Regions from separate parts of the Homo sapiens genome. Here all the other regions are linked to region 2. Evidence: promoter capture Hi-C in 16 types of primary human blood cells and fetal thymus (Javierre and others, 2016). All regions are on one chromosome and are shown on one strand. Each heading gives the region's core, a stretch centred on a gene start or on the middle of the fragment in contact. The rest is flanking DNA. Distances are from core to core; before and after follow the strand shown. Region 1 overlaps KATNBL1 (katanin regulatory subunit B1 like 1). Region 2 holds the start of NOP10 (NOP10 ribonucleoprotein). Region 3 overlaps EMC7 (ER membrane protein complex subunit 7). Region 4 has its middle 15 kb from the start of PGBD4.

What was found. The method cuts DNA at HindIII sites, captures the fragments that hold promoters and counts their contacts. A CHiCAGO score of 5 or more calls a contact.
Region 1: a contact is called between a fragment that was not itself captured here and the fragment with the promoter of NOP10 in region 2, in 1 of 17 cell types (neutrophils). The highest score is 6.1, in neutrophils.
Region 3: a fragment that was not itself captured here is called in contact with the fragment with the promoter of NOP10 in region 2 in 6 of 17 cell types (neutrophils, naive CD4 T cells, fetal thymus and 3 more); the score reaches 9.8 in neutrophils.
Region 4: a fragment that was not itself captured here is called in contact with the fragment with the promoter of NOP10 in region 2 in 1 of 17 cell types (neutrophils); the score reaches 7.8 in neutrophils.

Annotation. Positions count from the first base shown.
Region 1 is chr15:34,145,108-34,150,018 of GRCh38, reverse strand. KATNBL1 (katanin regulatory subunit B1 like 1) reads left to right here. Exons shown (of 10, transcript NM_024713.3): 5 at 1,269-1,387; 6 at 2,589-2,639; 7 at 2,730-2,819; 8 at 3,169-3,258; 9 at 4,528-4,621. Among named protein-coding and RNA genes, the nearest start is that of PGBD4, 45 kb to the right of the region's middle. The HindIII fragment of the contact is 4,046 bases long and covers 594-4,639 here.
Region 2 is chr15:34,341,221-34,346,268 of GRCh38, reverse strand. NOP10 (NOP10 ribonucleoprotein) reads left to right here and starts at 3,133. Exons shown (of 2, transcript NM_018648.4): 1 at 3,133-3,249; 2 at 4,161-4,550. The coding sequence starts at 3,196. The coding sequence ends at 4,301. NUTM1 (NUT midline carcinoma family member 1) reads right to left here and starts at 2,954. Exons shown (of 8, transcript NM_001284292.2): 1 at 2,567-2,954; 2 at 234-327. The coding sequence starts at 2,572. RefSeq lists silencers at 3,101-3,200, 3,281-3,390. The HindIII fragment of the contact is 8,760 bases long and covers 1-5,048 here.
Region 3 is chr15:34,093,026-34,097,894 of GRCh38, reverse strand. It overlaps EMC7 (ER membrane protein complex subunit 7), which reads left to right. Exons shown (of 5, transcript NM_020154.3): 2 at 1,881-2,000. Among named protein-coding and RNA genes, the nearest start is that of EMC7, 6.4 kb to the left of the region's middle. The HindIII fragment of the contact is 3,737 bases long and covers 470-4,206 here.
Region 4 is chr15:34,114,828-34,119,506 of GRCh38, reverse strand. No RefSeq gene overlaps it. Among named protein-coding and RNA genes, the nearest start is that of PGBD4, 15 kb to the right of the region's middle. The HindIII fragment of the contact is 6,969 bases long and covers 1-4,679 here.

The sequences.
Region 1 (4,911 bases), core at 1,367-3,866, 200 kb after region 2:
ACAAAAGTGTCTGTACAAGTGCACATATTTACATATATCAGGATGTCCACTCATCAGTTTTGATAGGTAAAAACCAGAATCTAAATAAATTATGGTATGTAAAGACTAGAGAATATGCTATTGTTTTTTGTTGTTGTTTTTAAGAGATGAGGTCTCACTGTCTCACTGTCTTTCCCAGGCTGGACTCAAACTCCTGAGCTCAAGTGGTTCTCCCACCTCAGGTTCCCAAGTAGCTGGGACTGTAGGCACACAGCACTATGCCAGGCTATGCTGTTGTTCTTTAAAAGTAAAGTTGGGCTTGGTGTGGCGGCTCATGCCTGTAATCCCAGCACTTGGGAGGCCAAGGCAGGCGGATCATGTGAGGTCAGGAGTTGGAGACCAGCTTGGCCAACATGGCAAAACCCCATCTCTACTAAAAATAGGAAAATTAGTTGGGTGTTGTGTTGGGTGCCTGTAATCCCAGCTACTCGGGGAGGGTGAGGCAGGAGAATTACTTGAGCTTGGGAGGCGGAGGTTGCAGTGAGCTGAGATTGCACCACTGCACTCCAGCCTAGGCAACAGAGCAAGACCCTGTCTCCAAAAAAAAAAAAGCTTGATCTGTGTTTTGACATTGAAAAATGTTCATATAGGTAAAAAAGCAAGGTTTTGAACAATATAGGTAATTAATTTTTCAGAGTGTTTATATGTGTACTTAATTTGTCTTTGTCTAGAAAATGGTCTGGAAAGATACATATCAGTCTGTTAACTGTGATTATTTCTGCGGAGTGATATTGGATGTTTTTGTGGGCAGGCAGAGAGTTTTTACTTTTTATCTTACATAGTTCTGTGTTAAACACATTAGAACAGGAAAATGACACTTCATTACTTAACAATAAATAGATAAATTTAAATGATACTACAACACTTGTCAAAAACTGAGTTTTTGTGATTCTCCTGCCATTCAGTTGGTAATGACTAGCCTACATGTTTACATTTTTCTTTTATCCATGTTATAAATTAAGTCCTAGTTTATAGGTCAGCTAAAAATAATTTTATAAATTATTGGGTTTTAAAAGAAAAATGGTAGCTAGTGAAAAGTATAAATGGGTCTTAAATTTGTTCAGATCATTTGTTTACTGTGGTCAACTGCAGTATTCCTTTTTGTGGGCTAGTAAAAGGAGTTACTTTTGCATGATTTTTAACTATGTCTACCAGAACGATTTAATAAAAAAATAGTTTCATACCCTGTTTCAGTGTGCTTTTTAACAAATCAGATTATTGCCTTTCAGGTTTCTCAGGACCATGAAACAATGGCCCAAGTTTTGTTCAGCAGGAATATGAGATTGAATGTAGCTTTAACTTTCTGGAGAAAGAGAAGTATAAGTGAACTTGTAGCTTATTTGTTGAGGTAAGTGTGACCTTTTATCCTCTTTGTTCAATCACTTTTTTTCTGAGACAAGTTCTTGCTTTGTCATCCAAGTTGGAGTACAGTGGCACAATCATGGCTCACTGCAGCCTCAACCTGCTGAGTTCAAGCAGCCCTCCCACCTCAGCCTCCTGAGTAGCTGAGAGTACAGGTGCACATCACCACACCTGGCTATTTTTTAAAAAAATTTTTTGGAAGACATGAGGTCTTATGTTTCCCGGGCTGGTCTCGAACTCCTGAGCTCAGGTGAACCTTCTTCATTATTCTAAACTGCCTATATGTAGCTTCAGTAGAGACAGTATGGCTTAAATTACATTCCTCACCCATCTAAGAGTAACCAAAATACAGAAAACAATGTTTTATCAGATTGAACAAAGCTGTTACCTTTCCTGACTGTCATTCTTACCTATAAAACTAAGAGATAACGATATGGGAAAACTAACCTTCTAAAAATCCCTTTTGAGGCCAGGTGTGGCAGTTCTTGCCTATAATCCCAGCATTTGGGAAGGTTGAGGTGAGAGAGTCCCTTGAGCCCAGGAGTGAGAGACTGAGCAACATAGCAAGACTCCATCTCTACAAAAAATAAAAATAATAAGCCAGGCACAGTGGTACGTGCTTGTGGTCCCAGATACTTGGGAAGATCACTTTGAACCCAGGAGTTGGAGGTTGCAGTAAGCTGTGATTATGCAACTACATTCCAGCCTGGGCAACCGAATGAGACCCGTTTCTTAAAAAAAAAATTACTAAAAATAAAAAGTAAACATCCCTTTTGAGTGGGAATTTGAAGCATTACTTTCCTCATTGTATTCAAGTCTCTCAGATGTTACCTTAGGGAAGCCTTCTTTGACCAACTTATTTTAAAATACCTATTTCTCCACTCCCTATCTCGCTTTCCTGTTTTATTTTTCTCCATAGCACTTATATCAACCTGCTCTATATGTCTTATGTCTTGTTATTTGTTTATTGCCTGTCTCTGTCCCACCCCCCAACCCCCACAGTTGCTCACACACTGGAATACAAGCCCTGTGTCTTTGTTCATTGCTGTATCCACAGACATGACTCATTGTAGATACTGACATTGTTAAATGAATGAATTTCTCAAAAGCGGTGTGAATAATCATAATATGAAAGTAAATAAGGAAATCAGCTCTCTAAGGCAATGCTATTCTTTTTATACTCTCAGGATAGAAGATCTTGGCGTTGTGGTAGATTGCCTTCCTGTGCTCACCAATTGGTAAAAACAATATTTTTCAGAAAAAAAATAAGATTAAAGGAGGTCAAATTATGGCCCATCCATATTTTTATAACTTGGTATTTATTTTAGTTTACAGGAAGAAAAACAATATATCTCACTTGGCTGCTGTGTTGACTTGTTGCCTCTAGTAAAGTCACTACTTAAAAGCAAATTTGAAGAGTAAGTGCTAATCTGAATCTTGATTCATTTTTCTTTTTCAGCATCCTTGATTTTGTGCTTTGTGAGTACATAGTAGATTGGGCTCCATGAGACATGCAAGGTTTCTGTTTTCAAGAAGCTAATAGTACAATTAGGAAAAGAATATGAAATGACTAAAGGACAATTATAAAAGCATCTCTAAACAAATTACATGAAATATACTTTTGTGTAATAGATCATGAAGGTAACAATTTTTTAAAAGGGAAGGGACCAATGTGTGTGTGTGTTTTTTGGGAGGGAAAGTATCATCTTTTATAAGAAGGGTTCTTAGATGAAAACACTTGAATTTTGTAACAAAATGTCATTTCAGATATGTTATAGTTGGTTTAAACTGGCTTCAAGCAGTCATTAAAAGGTGGTGGTCAGAACTATCATCCAAAACAGAAATTATAAATGATGGGTGAGTATACCTTTAAAGATAAACTCATGCTGAAATTTTCTTCAGGAAAGCAGCTTGATTAAACTAGGTAATAATTTTATCCCATTATCATCAGTGTATGGTATTTATTCTTTTTATATTCAGAGAGATACTAACTTAAGAGACTGTTCATTTGTGAAAACCACACCTGGAAATTGAATTCCAGAGCCTACTAACCTCCTGTATCTCTTCTTCTGGCACAACCCTACCCTTCATTTTAGAAGAAAAACACAATAGTGGTTTAATTCTCATATTCATTATGAGTAAGGGAGGAAAAAGAGATGCCCACAGTGTAATAAGGAATGGAGGCACCCTGCGGGGTCCTTTACCTAGACATTAACCTGAGAGTCCGGTGTTGATGTTTACAGTTCTAAAAACTGTATTATTACTGCCTTGATGTGAAAATTCGTGGGTATTCTACCAGAGTATAGCCAGATTATCATGAAACCACAGAAAAATATCTCCCAACAGTTTCCTTAAAGTCCATAATTTTGGGCCAGGCACGGTGGCTGATGCCTGTCTGTAATCCCAGCACTTTGGGAGGCCAAGAAGGGCAAATCACTTGAGCTCACAAGTTTGAGACAGCCTGGGCAACATGATGACATCCCGTCTCTACAAAAAATACAAAAATTAGCCAGGCATGGTGGTGTGCGCCTGTAGTCCCAGCTACTCAGGCTGAGGCAGGAGGATCGCTTGAGCCCAGGAGGTGGAGGTTGCAGTAAGCCGAGATGGCACCACTGCACTCCAGCCTGGGCAATAGAGCCAGCCCTTGTCTCAAAAAAAAAAAAAAAAAAAGCCACAATTTATTTTGTAGGCTCTCAAAATTTTCTACTTCACACCAAGGAATGTCCAAATGTTCCAAACGCCTGGTCATTTTCTTACCTGCTTTGACAACTAAATAACCTTTAATTTTCTTTTTTTTTTTAATTGAAATCAAGTAAGAAATTTTATTAATTTTGGAATTGAAAAAACATCCTTTGTTGTTTCCAAGAATTAATTAAATAGGAGGCATTTGGCGGTATTATGTGGATAAACCTTTAATTTTCATGACTGACATGTATTATTCTAAAAGTTATTTGATTTTTTTTTAATTTCTCTCCACGTTCCCAAATGTTTTATTTCAAATAGCATCATTTTCTCCTGAAAAATACCTGAAAAATTTTAGAACAGTTTTTATTATGCATATTTATGATGAAAGTTTGTATCTTAATGTATTTGCTTTCTCATTTTTCTTCCTTTTTTTTCTTTTAGAAATATTCAAATTTTAAAACAACAATTAAGTGGATTATGGGAACAGGAAAACCATCTTACTTTGGTTCCAGGATATACTGGTAATATAGCTAAGGTAATCTATATTTAAGCTTATAAATTAAACATTAAAAATTAGAAATAATATTTTACATTTATAAATTAATTTTCAAGTCTCTAGGCAAAATAATATGGTACTGTTCTAATGTCTAAAGTCAATTTCATATTTTCAAATGCTTCAGGTCCTCTGCGTGTAACTGTGACCTTGGCAGCAAGCACAGGAATTGGCCATTGAACATGTTTCATGTACAGCCCCTGAAATGCTATGCTAGAGGATATTTACAGAGGGTTTTAATCAGAGAAAAGTATTTGAAAAAATTTTGAGAA
Region 2 (5,048 bases), core at 1,884-4,383:
TCCTTTCTCTATACTCAGCATGTGTCCTCAGAGACACCTTAATCTGTCCTTAAGGAAGTCCTCTTCCTTCCCCAGCCCCTAGTCTTAAAGGTACAATCTCCTTCCCTAGCCTCCCCAAGTGTGATACCTTTGACGGGGTGTAGCACCTCACATTCCTTTAGGTCAGCCCAGAGAGCTTGTCTCAAAGGATATGAGCAGGTACCAGAAATCCTCCTCACCACCTGCAGACTTACCTCCATCTGAAGCCATCCTCTCAGGTTTGGGCACTAACTGTGGCTGTCTGGAAGCCTCCAGAATGAGGCAGTCAGGTCCAGGACCCAGAGTAACCTGGCTCCAGTAGGTGCACAGGGATCCAAGGAAGGGAAGGTAAAGATCAGATCACACAGAACTAGAATACGGAACTCAAGGCATTCTGCTGTGGGGGAGGGGAGAGGGAAAAGTGGGGTGAGGGTGGGGACAGATATTCCATGAAGGGTTCTAGTAAGTATGAAAAAACCAGGAATTCCCTTCAAACTACAGTTTGGCAACACAATTGATGTTTGCCTCTTTAGGGCTATTTGTAAACTTTTTCTCAGATTCCCAACACATTACAGTTTTACCGTTTGGTTCACTACACTTCGATTCTTCACCAACATATCTCATTTTGTGTCCTTCCATCCCAGCCAGTTCTGTAACTGACTTCCTATTAACAGCAGGTTGACTGTAGACCCCTGACTTAATTCAATGATGGCTATATTTTCTGAACTAAATTCAGAGTACATTGGTCTATACACGTAAGGATCAAGGGAACTAAAGTTTAAAATTAGAATTGTCAGATGATCCAAGGTGCTCGATTGCTGTGTGCACATCATTTCCTTGGAAAGCTGTCCAATCTACTAACATAGGCTCTGTACTCCACAGACGCCTTACCCTTTGCTGAAAAGCCTCACTAAATAAAAAAGCTGCCATGCAGTTTAAAATTTCAAGAGTAGAAAGTCCTTCTTTTTGTTAAATTATTTTGGTTTAAACTTTAAAAATAAAATTTATCTGCTAAGGTTCCTGGCGACTATTTCAGGCCAGTAACTCCCAGAGCATCCTCTACAGCCACAGCTTCATCCAAACGTGGATTTCCCCCAAAAGGCCTTCCCTGGGGTTCATGGCATCTTTCTTGCTTCCTCTGAGATATCTTTTCTCTTTTCTAAAGACCTGAAGGCTAAAATCATCATTTTCCTTTCTAACAAAATTAACTACTTAGATTTAAATTTTTTTTTTTAAACAGAGTCTCGCTCTGTCACCCAGGCTGTAGTGCAGTGGCGTGATCTCTGCTCACTGCAAGCTCCGCCTTCCGGGTTCACGCCATTGTCCTGCCTCACCCTCCTGAGTAGCTGGGACTACAGGCACCCACCACCATGCCCGGCTAATTTTTTGTATTTTTAGTAGAGACGGGGTTTCACTGTGTTAGCCAGGATAGTCTCGATCTCCTGACCTCATGATCCGCCCGCCTCAGCCTCCCAAAGTGCTGGGATTACTAGGCGTGAGCCACCGTGCCCGGCCTTTAAAAAATTTTTAACAGGTAATAAATACATTAGCAAGGTTCAAAAATCAAACTGCGTAATAAAATACATAGCAATAAGTCTGCCTCCCAACCCTTACCCCTTTCTCCTGCAACTAAGTTCTCTATCCCAGAGGAAACCAGTATCATCTGTTTCTTGTGAATACTTGCAGAGATTTTTTATGCAACTACAAGTAAATACAAACCATATTCTTTTTTTTTTTTTTTTTTTTTTGAGACAGGATCTCGCTCTGTCGCCCAGGCTGGAGTGCAGTGGCGTGATCTTGGCTCACTGCAACCTCCGCCTCCTGGGTTCAAGTGATTCTCCTGCCTCAGCCTCCCGAGTAGCTGGGACTACAGGTGCCCGCCACCACGCCCCGCTAATTTTTGTATTTTTGGGGGTTTCACCATATTGGCCAGGCTGGTCTCGAACTCCTGACCTTGTGATCCACCCGTCTCAGCCTCCCAAAGTGCTGGGATTACAGGCGTGAGCCACCGCGCCCAGCCACAAACCATATTTTTTTTTCTTTAAGACGGACCCAGGCTGGAGTGCAGTGGTGCTATCTCAGCTCGCTGCAACCTCTGCCTCCCCGGCTCAAATGATTCTCCTGCCTCAGCCTCTGAAGTAGCTGGGACTACAGGCGCCCACCACCACGCCCGGCTAATTTTTCTGTATTTTTAGTAGAGACGGGGTTTCGCCAGATTGGCCAGGCTGGTCTCGAACCCTTGACCTGTGATCTGCCTGCCTCAGCCTCCCAGTGTTGGGATTACAGGCGTGAGCCACCGCGCCCCGCCAAACCATATTCTTAAAAAAAAAAAAAAAAAAGTGCAGGTTTTTCTGGTTACACAGTTAATATATATTCCAATGCTTTTGTCATTGTAAATAATGGCGTAACGATGATCTTTGTAATGATATTTTGGTTCTCATTTTCATTTCTTTAAACGAGAGTCTTATAAGGAGAACTTCTATATTCTTTTAAAAATTGTAAAAACTCCTAGAAGGTGCACTTTATTACGTTATTATTAGCTACTCACCACCATAAGAAAGAGCGCTGAATTTGCGGTAGGGACCTAACTTTAAATCTTGGTTCGACCGCTGAAACATGCTTCACCAGTTTCATAAAATAACTTTACGCTCTTTCGCTTTACGGAATATTGATACTCAACATGCATTCTTTACCGCCAACGCTTTGAAATGGAGCAGGGGAACTGGATGTAAAAGAGGGGAGGGAAGAAAACCTCTTCTTTCTTCCCTAGGGTAAAGGGGCTCTGAATCCTGGAGCCCTTGTTTCTTCAGGCATTGAAAACTCACTGCTCCTGAAATGGGTGTGTATCTTGAGACAAAGACAGGCTTCTATACGTCAATATTCTATCCACATCCATCCCTACCCCCCTCTAACGCCGTGTACCTAGCACACAGTAGGGACACTCCACGTGTTTTAGCCTGCAAAGTTGCAAGTAGGGCCCCAAGCCAAGCCCTGCTCTCGTGCGCCCCCTTCTGGCTAGCTGAAAACAAGGCAAAAATTGACTACATTTTCCGGAGTGCCAGGAGAGAGAGACTTCCGGTTATGCAGGAAGGAAATTGACGAACACGTGACGCGGTCGGGCGGACCACTGCAGACTGAGCGGTGGACCGAATTGGGACCGCTGGCTTATAAGCGATCATGTTTCTCCAGTATTACCTCAACGAGCAGGGAGATCGAGTCTATACGCTGAAGGTGAGGAGAGAAAACAGGGTGTAAATAGGCATGGCGAGAAATGTAGATGGGAGGAGTGGGTGAGGTCATACGTGGAGTTACCTAGCTGGGTGCGGGGAACCAGAAAGTCCAGAACCGAGGTGGGGAAGAACCGGGACCGCGCGACTCATTTTTTAATTAAAAGAAAAAATTCTGGCGGGGCGCAGTGGCTCCCGCCTGTAATCCTAGCACTTTGGGAGGCCGAGGCGGGTGGATTGCCTTAGCTCAGGAGTTCGCGACCATTCTGGGCAACACTGTGAAACTCCGTTTCTACTAAAATACAAAAAATTAGCCGGGCATGGCGGTGTGCGCCTGTTATCCCAGCTACTCGGGAGGCTGAGACAGGAGAATCGCTTAAACCCGGGAGGCAGAGGTTGCAGTGAGCCGGGATAGCGCCATTGCACTCACTTTTCCTTTTTTTTTTTTTTTTTTTTTTTAAAGACAGGGACTCGCTTTGTTGCCTAGGCTGTAGTGCGGTGGTGCGGTCTCGGCTCACTGCAACCTCCGCCTCCTGGGCTCAAACAATCCTTCTGCCTCAGCCTCCCGAGTAGTTGGGACTACAGGCGTGCGCCACCATACCCGGCTAATTTTTGGTTTTGGGGTTTTTTGTTTGGTTGGTTGGTTTTGTTTGTTTGTTTGTTGTAGAGACGAGGTTTCGCCATATTGCCCAGGCTGGTCTCAAACCATCCTCCCGCCTCGACCTCCCAAAGTGCCAGGATTACAGGCGTGAGCCACCGCGCTCGGCCTTTTTAAATTTTATATTTCTCTATTTATTTGTACAACTTTTTGAGTTGACCATTGCATCTTCTATTTTCATGTTTGCCCTTTTTCGCGCTGGCCCCACCCCATTTCATCACTCCTGTACTGACATACATTCTGTGTTCCTGGAGCAGAAATTTGACCCGATGGGACAACAGACCTGCTCAGCCCATCCTGCTCGGTTCTCCCCAGATGACAAATACTCTCGACACCGAATCACCATCAAGAAACGCTTCAAGGTGCTCATGACCCAGCAACCGCGCCCTGTCCTCTGAGGGTCCCTTAAACTGATGTCTTTTCTGCCACCTGTTACCCCTCGGAGACTCCGTAACCAAACTCTTCGGACTGTGAGCCCTGATGCCTTTTTGCCAGCCATACTCTTTGGCATCCAGTCTCTCGTGGCGATTGATTATGCTTGTGTGAGGCAATCATGGTGGCATCACCCATAAAGGGAACACATTTGACTTTTTTTTCTCATATTTTAAATTACTACAAGATTATTAAAGATAAAATGATTTGAAAAACTCTTATTTTGTGAGTTGTTGGAGGAAAGGATTGGCAGTATTTTTTTAAAGGGAGGGAGATGATAAAGGAGAGTACCCCAGAGAGTTGCAACAATACCACTTGGAAGAAAAACTTCAGTCCTGCTGTTGCAAGAGTGGTCATGTGCTGTTCATGATAGGAGGGTATTGGGGAAGAAAGATTAAGACTTTCACAGCTGTCAGCATTCACTGAAAAATACCTCTGTTGTCACTTAACGTAATTTCTTGTCCCTTGAAATAAGATTTTGATTAAAAATGGAAGAGTACTTGTAAAAGTAATAGGCATATTACAGACAGAGGTCAGTGAATTGAAAGTCAGAAGACCAGTATTTGCTTTTTGTATAACTTTGAGAAAGTTACTTAACCTGTTTAGTCTGATTTTTCTCCTGATTAACTTATCTTTGAACTCAAATTGATTTAGTGGTGGGCCTTTCTTTTTTTTTCTTTTGAGACAGAGTCTAGATCTGTTGTCCAGGCTGG
Region 3 (4,869 bases), core at 1,089-3,588, 250 kb after region 2:
CAGGTTCAAGTGATTCTCCTGCCCCAGCCTCCTGAGTAGCTGGGACTACACGCGCATGCCACCACACCCAGCTAATTTTTGTATTTTTAGTAGAGACAGGGTTTCACCGTATTAGTCAGGATGGTCTCGTCATCTTGCTTTTTAGTAACTGTTGTGGATATCATCAGTATCAGTTATTCCTTTAACTATGAAAGAGCCTATGAGGATTTAAGAAGCATTATTTTAATATATTATTATGATATCGGGAATTCTCTGATACAGTTGGTCATTTTAGAACCATTTGTTTTCCTGAAACATAAACTTTTTTTCCCCCCTCAGAATAGTAGTTTCTCATTTTTCAAACAAATTAATTTTGATCTGTGAAATGAAATTATCAGCTCTTGATAGGATGGTTTTCTAAGTCTAGGAAGTTTAGAAGAAATCAGTAAGGAAAAGATGGATGTTTTTAACTACATAAACATTTTAAGCTTCTAGTAACCAAAGTAAATGGGAATTATTTATAGCAAATAGAACAAATGGTACTTAAATACCTTTTATTATTTGTTAAAAAGAACAGAAAACCGGCCAGGCGCAGTGGCTCACGCCTGTAATCCCAGCACTTTGGGAGGCCGAGGCGGGCGGATCACGAGGTCAGGAGATTGAGACCATTCTGGCTAACACGGTGAAACCCCGTCTCTACTAAAAATACAAAAAATTAACCGGGCGTGATGGAGGGCGCCTGTAGTCCCAGCTACTCGGGAGACTGAGGAAGGAGAATGGCGTGAACGCAGGAGGCGGAGCTTGCAGTGAGCCGAGATAGGGCCACTGCACTCCAGCCTGGGCAACAGAGTGAGACTCCGTCTCAAAAAAAAAAAAGAAGAAGAACAGAAAACCAAAAATTGCAAGTTAAAACTAGAACAAAATGCCTTTTTTTTTTTTTGTTGGAGATGGAGTTTTTGCTCTGGTTGCCCAGGCTGGACAGCTCACTGCAACCTCTGCCTCCCGGGTTAAAGCAATTCTCCTATCTCAGTCTCCCGAGTAGCTGGGATTACAGGCATGCGCCACCACGCCTGGCTAATTTTGTATTTTTAGTAGAGATGGGGTTTCTCCATGTTGGTCAGGCTGGTCTCTAACTCCCAACCTCAGGTGATCTGTCTGCCTCGGCCTCCCAAAGTGCTGGGATTACAGGCGGCAGCCACCACGCCTGGCCTGCCATTTTTAACAGTAAGAAGTTGTTGGGGGTGACTGGCAAAATTGGAACCCTAATATTTTAATAATAATGTATATTCAATGAAGACATGGCTTTAGAATGGGAATTGTGTTTCTGTCACCTGTCATCTCTACCCATAGAAGGAAAATAATTACTTTCTATGTCAGGCTTCTCTGCTACCCTGGAGTGGTCTTGGGTATTTTCAGAACCTATTCAGTGTAATTATAGACACTGAAGGCCGGCACAGTGGCTCATGCCTGTAATCCCAGCACTTTGGGAGGCTGAGACGGGTGGATTACCCGAGGTCAGGAGTTCGAGACCAGCCTGGCCAACATGGTGAAACCCCGTCTCTACTAAAAATACAAAAATTAGCTGGGCATGATGGGGCACGCCTGTAATCCCAGCTACTCGGGAGGCTGAGGCAGGAGAATCGCTCGAACCCAGGAGGCGGAAGTTGCAGCGAGCTGAGATCGTGCCATTGCACTCCACCCTGAGCGTCGCAGCGAGACTCCGTCTCAAAAGAAAAAAGAAAAGAAACTGAAGCATAGGACAACTTTCGCCAAGGTTTTGTTTGTTTGTTTGCCCGTTGCTTTTAATGTCATTTTTCGGGAGAGTTGATTTGGGAATTAGCAAGTAAGAAAAGACTAAGCTGTTGATCAGTAGTAGCTAAACATGATTTTCATTTTTCCAGGACAGATGGGAGTTTTGTGGTTCATGATATACCTTCTGGATCTTATGTAGTGGAAGTTGTATCTCCAGCTTACAGATTTGATCCCGTTCGAGTGGATATCACTTCGAAAGGAAAAATGAGGTGAGGGCACCTGATTTAATTTTTGCCAAAAGCTAGGCTACTGAATACCTTAGTATATATTCCTTTTAGAATTAATAGTTTAGATGGAAAATTCTTTTTATTTAAACTACAGCTATTCCTTAAAACACTTAAAATATCCTCGTTTATTTAATCTGAACATTGAAAAAATTGTAAAGTTGAGCTTCTTGCTCTGGCTTAAAATTTATTTTAAAGCTCCTAATATGATTACATAAAGAAAAGGTAAGATTACTTACTATAGGAGCTAAAGTGCTATGAAAGTTATAATTGAAATATGATTATTAAGTTGGAAATAATTTAACTTTTCTAAATTAGAAATACTATTCATCACCTGTTTTTCACTGGGATATTTTGATAATACCTCTTATTACCTATTTGATACTTCATTGATCTGGAAATTTCTGTGGTCCTTTCTTTATGGAATCTTTTATGTTCAATGGAAATATAGTATTTCTAGGGAAAACAATTGAGGTGAAAAGAACTATAGTCTAATTTAGACTGTGAGTGTGGAATAGCAAAACCTATTTGAAGTTGAAACATTTGTATAGTATCTATAGTCTTCAGAGTCAGCTTCCCATTATAATAGAACACATTTATTTATTTATTTTGTTGTCTCATGGCAATAGCATCCTCTTTGGTCAAATCTGACCAGGAAATATATGAAGCAACTCCTAAGTGGTAATGTCTCTTCTTTAAGCTATCAAATATGACTATGTTGCAGTAATAAAGCACAGGTCATGCAAAGGCAAAAACAATTTCTGGAGGTGGAGGACTAATAAATAATTTTACTACTGATCTTTTTGGTGTCTGCGCAGCATATTTAGACTGACTTGTAGAGACTCAAAATTGAGCTGACACATGTTCAGTTAGTACCATACTATTTACATTTGAGTTAGTGTTTACTCCTAAAATTTGTAATTTGTTTCTTCTTTCTTTGCTTTCTTTGACATTGAAAGTTTTAAAAATGTAATATGTAAATATGCCATAATTCAAATAGAATGAGTCACACATGGAGTTGTCCCATCCTTTATCTTAGCTGCGTGTTAGTCCATTGGTGGATTTGACATCATTTATATAACCGGCTCCTATTGATAGACAAGCAGTGATTTCTTTCTCTTCTTTTAGCATGTATACTAAACAGAGACAGTTATCAAGAGAATATTCTTTTTTTTTTTGAGACAAAGTCTTGCTCTGTTGCCCAAGCTAGAGTGCAGTGGCGCAATCTTGGCTCATTGCATCCTCTGCCTCCCAGGTTCAAGGGATTCTCGTACCTCAGCCTCCCAAGTAGTTGGGATTACAGCTGCACGCCACCATGCCTGTCTGATTTTTTGTTTGTTTGTTTGAGATGGAGTCTCGCTCTGTCACCCAGGCTAGAATGCAGTGGTGTGATTTCGGCTCACTGCAACCTCTGCCTCCTGGGTTCAAGCAATTCTTCTGCCTCAGCCTCCTAAGTAGCTGGGACTACAGGCACCTACCACCAACGCCCGGCTAATTTTTGTATTTTTAGTAGAGACGGGATTTCACCATATTGGCCAGGCTGGTCTCGAACTCCTGACCTTGTGATCTGCCCGCCTCCCAAAGTCCTGGGATTACAGGTGTGAGCCACGGCACCTGGCTTGATTTTTTTATTTTTTTGTAGAGATGGGGTTTCGCCATGTTGGCCAGGCTGGTCTCAAACTCCTGACCTCAAGTGATCTGCCCACTTTGGCCTCCCAAAGTGCTGGGATTACAGATGTGAGCCACTGCACCTGTCCAAGAGAATATTCTTGATATTATCAGGAAAGTAATACTCTAATGCCACTAATATATTCTTAAAAACAAATTACTTTTCCCCCCTACTTTGTAGAGAGACAAAATCTTGCTATGTTGCCTAGGCTGGAGTGTAGTGGTTTTTCTCAGGTGCAATCATAGCCCGCTACAGCCTCAAATTGACCTTTAGTGATCTTCCCACCTCAGCCTCCTAAGTAGCTGGGATTATAGGCATGACTGTACCACTGCACTCCAGCCTGGGCAACAAAGCAAGATCCTGTCTCAAAAAAAAAAAAAAAAAAAATATATATATATATATATGTGTGTGTGTGTGTGTGTGTGTGTATACATATATGTGTATATGTAAAGTTCTTTTATATTAAATCTGTGCCTTAAAGGACTTATTCATGACTTTTTGTATATTTTAGAATTGTAAGCTTGGAAATGGAGGGGTACGTGGATCACAGTATATGTTATATATACTGCTTTAAACATTTTTTTTATATTGAAAACACAATATTGGACGGAATGAGAGCTGCTACACAAAAGGGAATACTTGTATTTTTTTTTAATCCTTTTTACTCTGGTTAAATTTTGAATAAAATAGTCTTAGCAAATAGGAATATTGTTTTAAATATAGACGGTCCCCAGCTTACAATGGTTCAACTTATAATTTTTTTTTTTTTTTTAATTTGAGACAGTCTCGCTCTGTCACCAGGCTGGAGTGCAGTGGCGTGATCTCGGCTCACTGCAACCTCCGCCTCCCGGGTTCAAGCGATTCCCCTGCCTCAGCCTCCTGAGTAGCTGGGACTACAGGCATGCGCCACCACTCCCAACTAATTTTGCATTTTTAATAGAGGCAGGGTCTCACCATGTTGGCCAGGATGGTTTCGATCTCTTGACATCATGATCCTCCTGCCTCGGCCTCCCAAAGTACTGGGATTACAGGTGTGAGCCACTGTGCCCAGCCCTCAACTTAGAATTTTTTGACTTTACCATGGTGCGAAAGCGATACACAGTAGAAACCATACTTTAAGTACCCATAACAACCATTCTTTTTTTTATGCTTAGTACAGAATTTAGTAAGTTACATGAATTAAAT
Region 4 (4,679 bases), core at 538-3,037, 230 kb after region 2:
ACGCCCTGGGAATGATCTATTCTGTCTGACTTAGAAAGCTCTTCCTTATAATAAGATTTAATCTATTTCTCTAGAGCTGCCATACATTAGTCCTTTTTTAAACCTTCTTATCAGAACTTCTTATCAAATCAGCCAAAACCTTTACTCAAGAAGATGACTCGATTGCAGTTTTCTGGAAGTTCACAGGATGCCCTCACTATCTGATGTAAGCTATGTTTATTCCATGGCCAGGTCATCTGTCAGGCTATTTTCTGTACAGTTGCACATGTAATTATAGGATTTGGGCTGGGCACGGTGGCTCACGCCTGTAATCCCAGCACTTTGGGAGGCTGAGGCAGGCAGGTCACTTGAGGTCAGGGGTTCAAGACCAGCCTGGCCAACATGGTGAAAACCTGTCTCTACTAAAAATACAAAAAGTGGCCAGGCATGGGGGTGCACGCCTGTAGTCCCAGCTACTTGGCAGGCTGAGGCAGGAAAATCACTTGAACACGGAGGCAGAGGTTGCAGTGAGACCAGATCATGCCACTGCACTCTGGCCTGGGTGACAGAGCCAGACTCCATCTCAAAAAATAAAAATTACGGCACTTAAACTAAATTCATGATTCATATTGTTTCTTTATAAATTTTAGTAATTCTTTATAGAGACATTTTTTCTTGGGTGTTGAAATATAGAGGCTCAAATGACAGAAAAAGGAATGTGATCTTATATTCTGTCAAAGCATTCTAAATGTTCCATTTATATTATAATTAGCATGTAGCAACCAGATTTAAAGTTTAAGAAGTCGTTTGCTTTGTTTCTGAGTTGTTCAGAACTTTCTAAAAACCCTGTGGTTGTTAATAGGTATCTTCTAAATGAAAAATATATGGTACATCTGGTTCCTGTGATTCACTTGCTCCTTTGAAGCTAGAAAGAAAAAGAACATTTGGGCCGATCACAGTGGCTCATGCCTTGGGAGGCCAAGGCGGGCTGATTGCCTGAGCTCAGGAGTTCGAGACCAGCCTGGGCAACACCGTGAAATCCTATCTCTACTAAAAAATTGGCCAAGCGTGGCGGCGTGCGCCTGTAGTCCCAGCTACTCAGGAGGCTGAGGCAGGAGAATCGCTTGAACCCGGGAGGTGGAGGTTGCTGTGAGCTGTGATCGCACCACTGCACTCCAGCCTGGGCGACAGGGAGAGACTCCATCTCCAAAAAAAAAAAAAAAAGAAAAAGAAAAAGAACATTTGGGTCCTCACTACCCGAGAACTCCTAATGCTCCTTCCTCAAGGTATGTACACTTTTTTCACCACCCTTTTCCAGACCAGAACTTGACTTAGAGCCTAAGAAAAGAAGAGTGAATGCATTGCTAACCAGCTGCCCAAATGATTGCCATTTAACCTTCAAAGCTCTGCATTCAATTAGAGTCAAATGCAGGCAGTAACTAAGATAACAAGTCAGGGGAGTATTGGGAAGGGGCATTTTCCTGGTAGGCCTTCCTTGCTGTAGGTATATTTGGGTATAAGTCTGAATATTAGAGGAAAAGCCAGACCCTACTATGACCATTCAGATAGACCAGCCAGGTTGAGCACTGAAAACCCTAATCACAGATGAAAATGACATGATATACTAGCATAAAGAGAATTTGCAGTCTGATTATAACTTATGATGAAAGTTATGAGGTATGCACCCAGGAGACCGTCCCTTCTCCAATATCCTTTTTCCTGAGGTAGAATGACAGGCCAGCATTTTCCTCTGTTTCCCTTGAGGCTTCCAGATTTGGTCCTGTCATGAATCTTCTTTTCTGAAACTGTAGTGATCTCTTTTTGTTACTCTCAGTCCATCTATCCAAGATATTTTGCCACCCTTTCTTTAGCATCTGGTTCTACCTAGTCTCCTACCCTCATTGATGACATCTAGATTCAAGTTAATTCTTCAGGTTTAAAACAAAGTACAGAAAAGAAACATACATATGAGTCACTTGTATTTACAAGAGAAGACTGTGAATTTATAGACATGAGCTGACAACTAAAAAAGTACCCCTGTGGGAAATTATATATGTATACATCTGCTTTTGCAACAAGGGACTGAATGATTGATATTTAAACTGCAATTGTACCTGTGTTAAAGTCTAACTTTGGGAAAATTATAGGTAAAAATGTATCCATTTGTATCATTAAACTTTCTAGGGTTAACACCATACAAACTAACAGAGTACACGGTTTTTATAATTAAAAAACAAGAAGAGGCAGGGTGTGGTGGCTCCCACCTGTAATCCCAGCAGTTTGGGAGGCCGAAGCAGGCGGATCACTTGAGGTCAGGAGTTCGAGACCAGGCTGGCCAACATGGCGAAACCACATCTCTACTGAAAATATAAAAAATTAGCCAGGCGTGGTGGCGTGTGCTTGTAATCCCAGCTACTCTGGAGGCTGAGGCAGGAGAATCGCTTGAACCTTGGGGCGGAGGTTGCAGTGAGCCGAGATCGTGCCACTGCACTCCAGCCTGGGCAATGGAGCAAAACTCTGTTTCAAAAAACAACAACAAACAAAACAAACAAGAAAAGCAGCAATGGAAAATTATGACCAACTAACAACAACACTGCTGATCCAGTTTCAGATAGCATCTTGTCTGAAAATCATAGGAATTCCAACCATCTGCCTCTGCCCATTAATTGTGGGAGCTCAGCAATCTGCCAACTATTGTATGGCTGCCAGTCTTACCCGTAGAATTCTGAATTAGAGTCTTCAACAAACCAAGGCCAGCATTCCCATTAGGCACAGTAAATACAGGGCCTAGCGCCAATGATACTTTCAGGGCTCCACAAAAATGTCTTAATTCCTTTTAAAATAAGAAACAATAGTGAATATACAATAATGAATCTGCCTGTAGTATATTTATCCTTATCTCAGTGCAGCAATAAAATATAATTTTTAATTTTTTTATGGAGGAAAGTGATCTACAAAGGCAAAAGTGCTTAGGACCCCCCCAAAATTGTGACATAGCCCTGTGGTAAACTCTCATACTCTGCTAATTTAGCTCATGAATACCAAATTTACATCCTTAATAACTCATAAGATATAGCATTGTTGTGAGCGAGAATAAAAAGAATGAGATCCTATAGTGCTATGTGAAACTTTATGAAGCTGTTTGTCATATGATAAAAACTGAAAAAGAATTTATATTTTAGCATCTGGACTGGAGGATCCTCAAAGCCCACCCAGGAACAAAAGGCCATACATAATCTCAGGTCTCCTCCTTTCCTACTTAAAGTGGCTCCATCCGCTAGTAGCATGAAGGAGCGTCTTAGAAATGCAGAACCTGTTTGGGCCAGGTGTGGTGGCTCATGCCTATAATCCCAGCACTTTGGGAGGCCAAGACGGGCAGATCACCTGAGGTCAGGAGTTCGAGACCAACCTGGCCAACGTGGTGAAACCCTGTCTCTACTAAAAATACAAAAATTAGCCAGGTATAGTGGAACATGCCTGTAATCCCAGCTACTCGGGAGGCTGAGGCAGGATAATAGCTTGAACCCAGGAGGCAGAAGTTGCAGTGAGCTGAGATCACACCATTGCACTCCAGCCTGGGTGACAAGAGTGAAACTCCGTCTAAAAAAAAAAAAGAAAGAAAGAAATGCAGAATCTCAGGCCCTATCCAGGCCTTCCTAATTAAAGTGTACATTTTTTACAACATTTGCAGGTGATATGTATGTATGTGAAAATTGAGAGGCGCTGTCAGTTTTAGAAGAATCTATACCTAGGAAAATATTCTCCATTCTAAAGGAGAGGACTGGCCAGGCGCAGTGGCTTACGTCTATAATCCCAACACTTCAGGAGGCCAAGGCAGGTGGATCACCTGACGTCAGGAGTACAAGACCAGCCTGGCCAACATGGTAAAACTCTGTCTCTACTAAAAACACAAAAACTAGCAGGGCATGGTGATGTGTGCCTGTAATCCCAGCTTCTAGGGAGGCTGAGGCAGGAGAATCACTTGAACCCGGGAGGCAGAGGTTGCAGTGAGCCAAGATCACACCACTGCACTCCAGCCTGGGCGAAAGAGCAAGAAGACTCCATCTCAAAAAATAAAAATAAAAATAAAATTAAATAAAGGAGAGGACTGCTCCAAAAGCAGTATCGATACAATATATTTTCTTGACCCCTTTGTAGGACTCATGACAGGGGTGCCCCATTTACTCAGCCCACTCTGCTCAAGCCCTTGCTGGATGGAGCACATGAGCAAAGGAGTGTGGGAACCAGCCGGTCACTTCAGCGCCAGTGGGAGCAAACTCTGTTCACTAGGGTTTGCAACCATGTTCCACCCCTTGCTGGAGGGAGTGCATAGGTGACTGAGTGCAGTAACCAGCTCACTGCTTTAGCGCCAGCAGAAGTGAATTCTGTGCAGGCCCCAAGGCAGTGTCCAGGTGAGAGTGCCTGTGACCCCAAGGCCTTAGAGGGCGTGTTACAATGCTCACTTAGCTCTGCCATCCACAAACAGCAGTGTGTTATCAGCTCAGTGGGCATTTTGCCTCATTGAGTGGGGTGGCTGCCCTCCACCGGCGAGGGCAAAGGGCCAGTGTGACAGCCTTTTTGGCTACCTGCACTTGGTGCATACTGAATTCTTGTCCAGTGCCCAGGGGGAATAAGGTCACACAGAAAAATTGAAGGATGGTGAATGCAGAGAATTTTATTGAGCAACAAAAGCAGCTCTC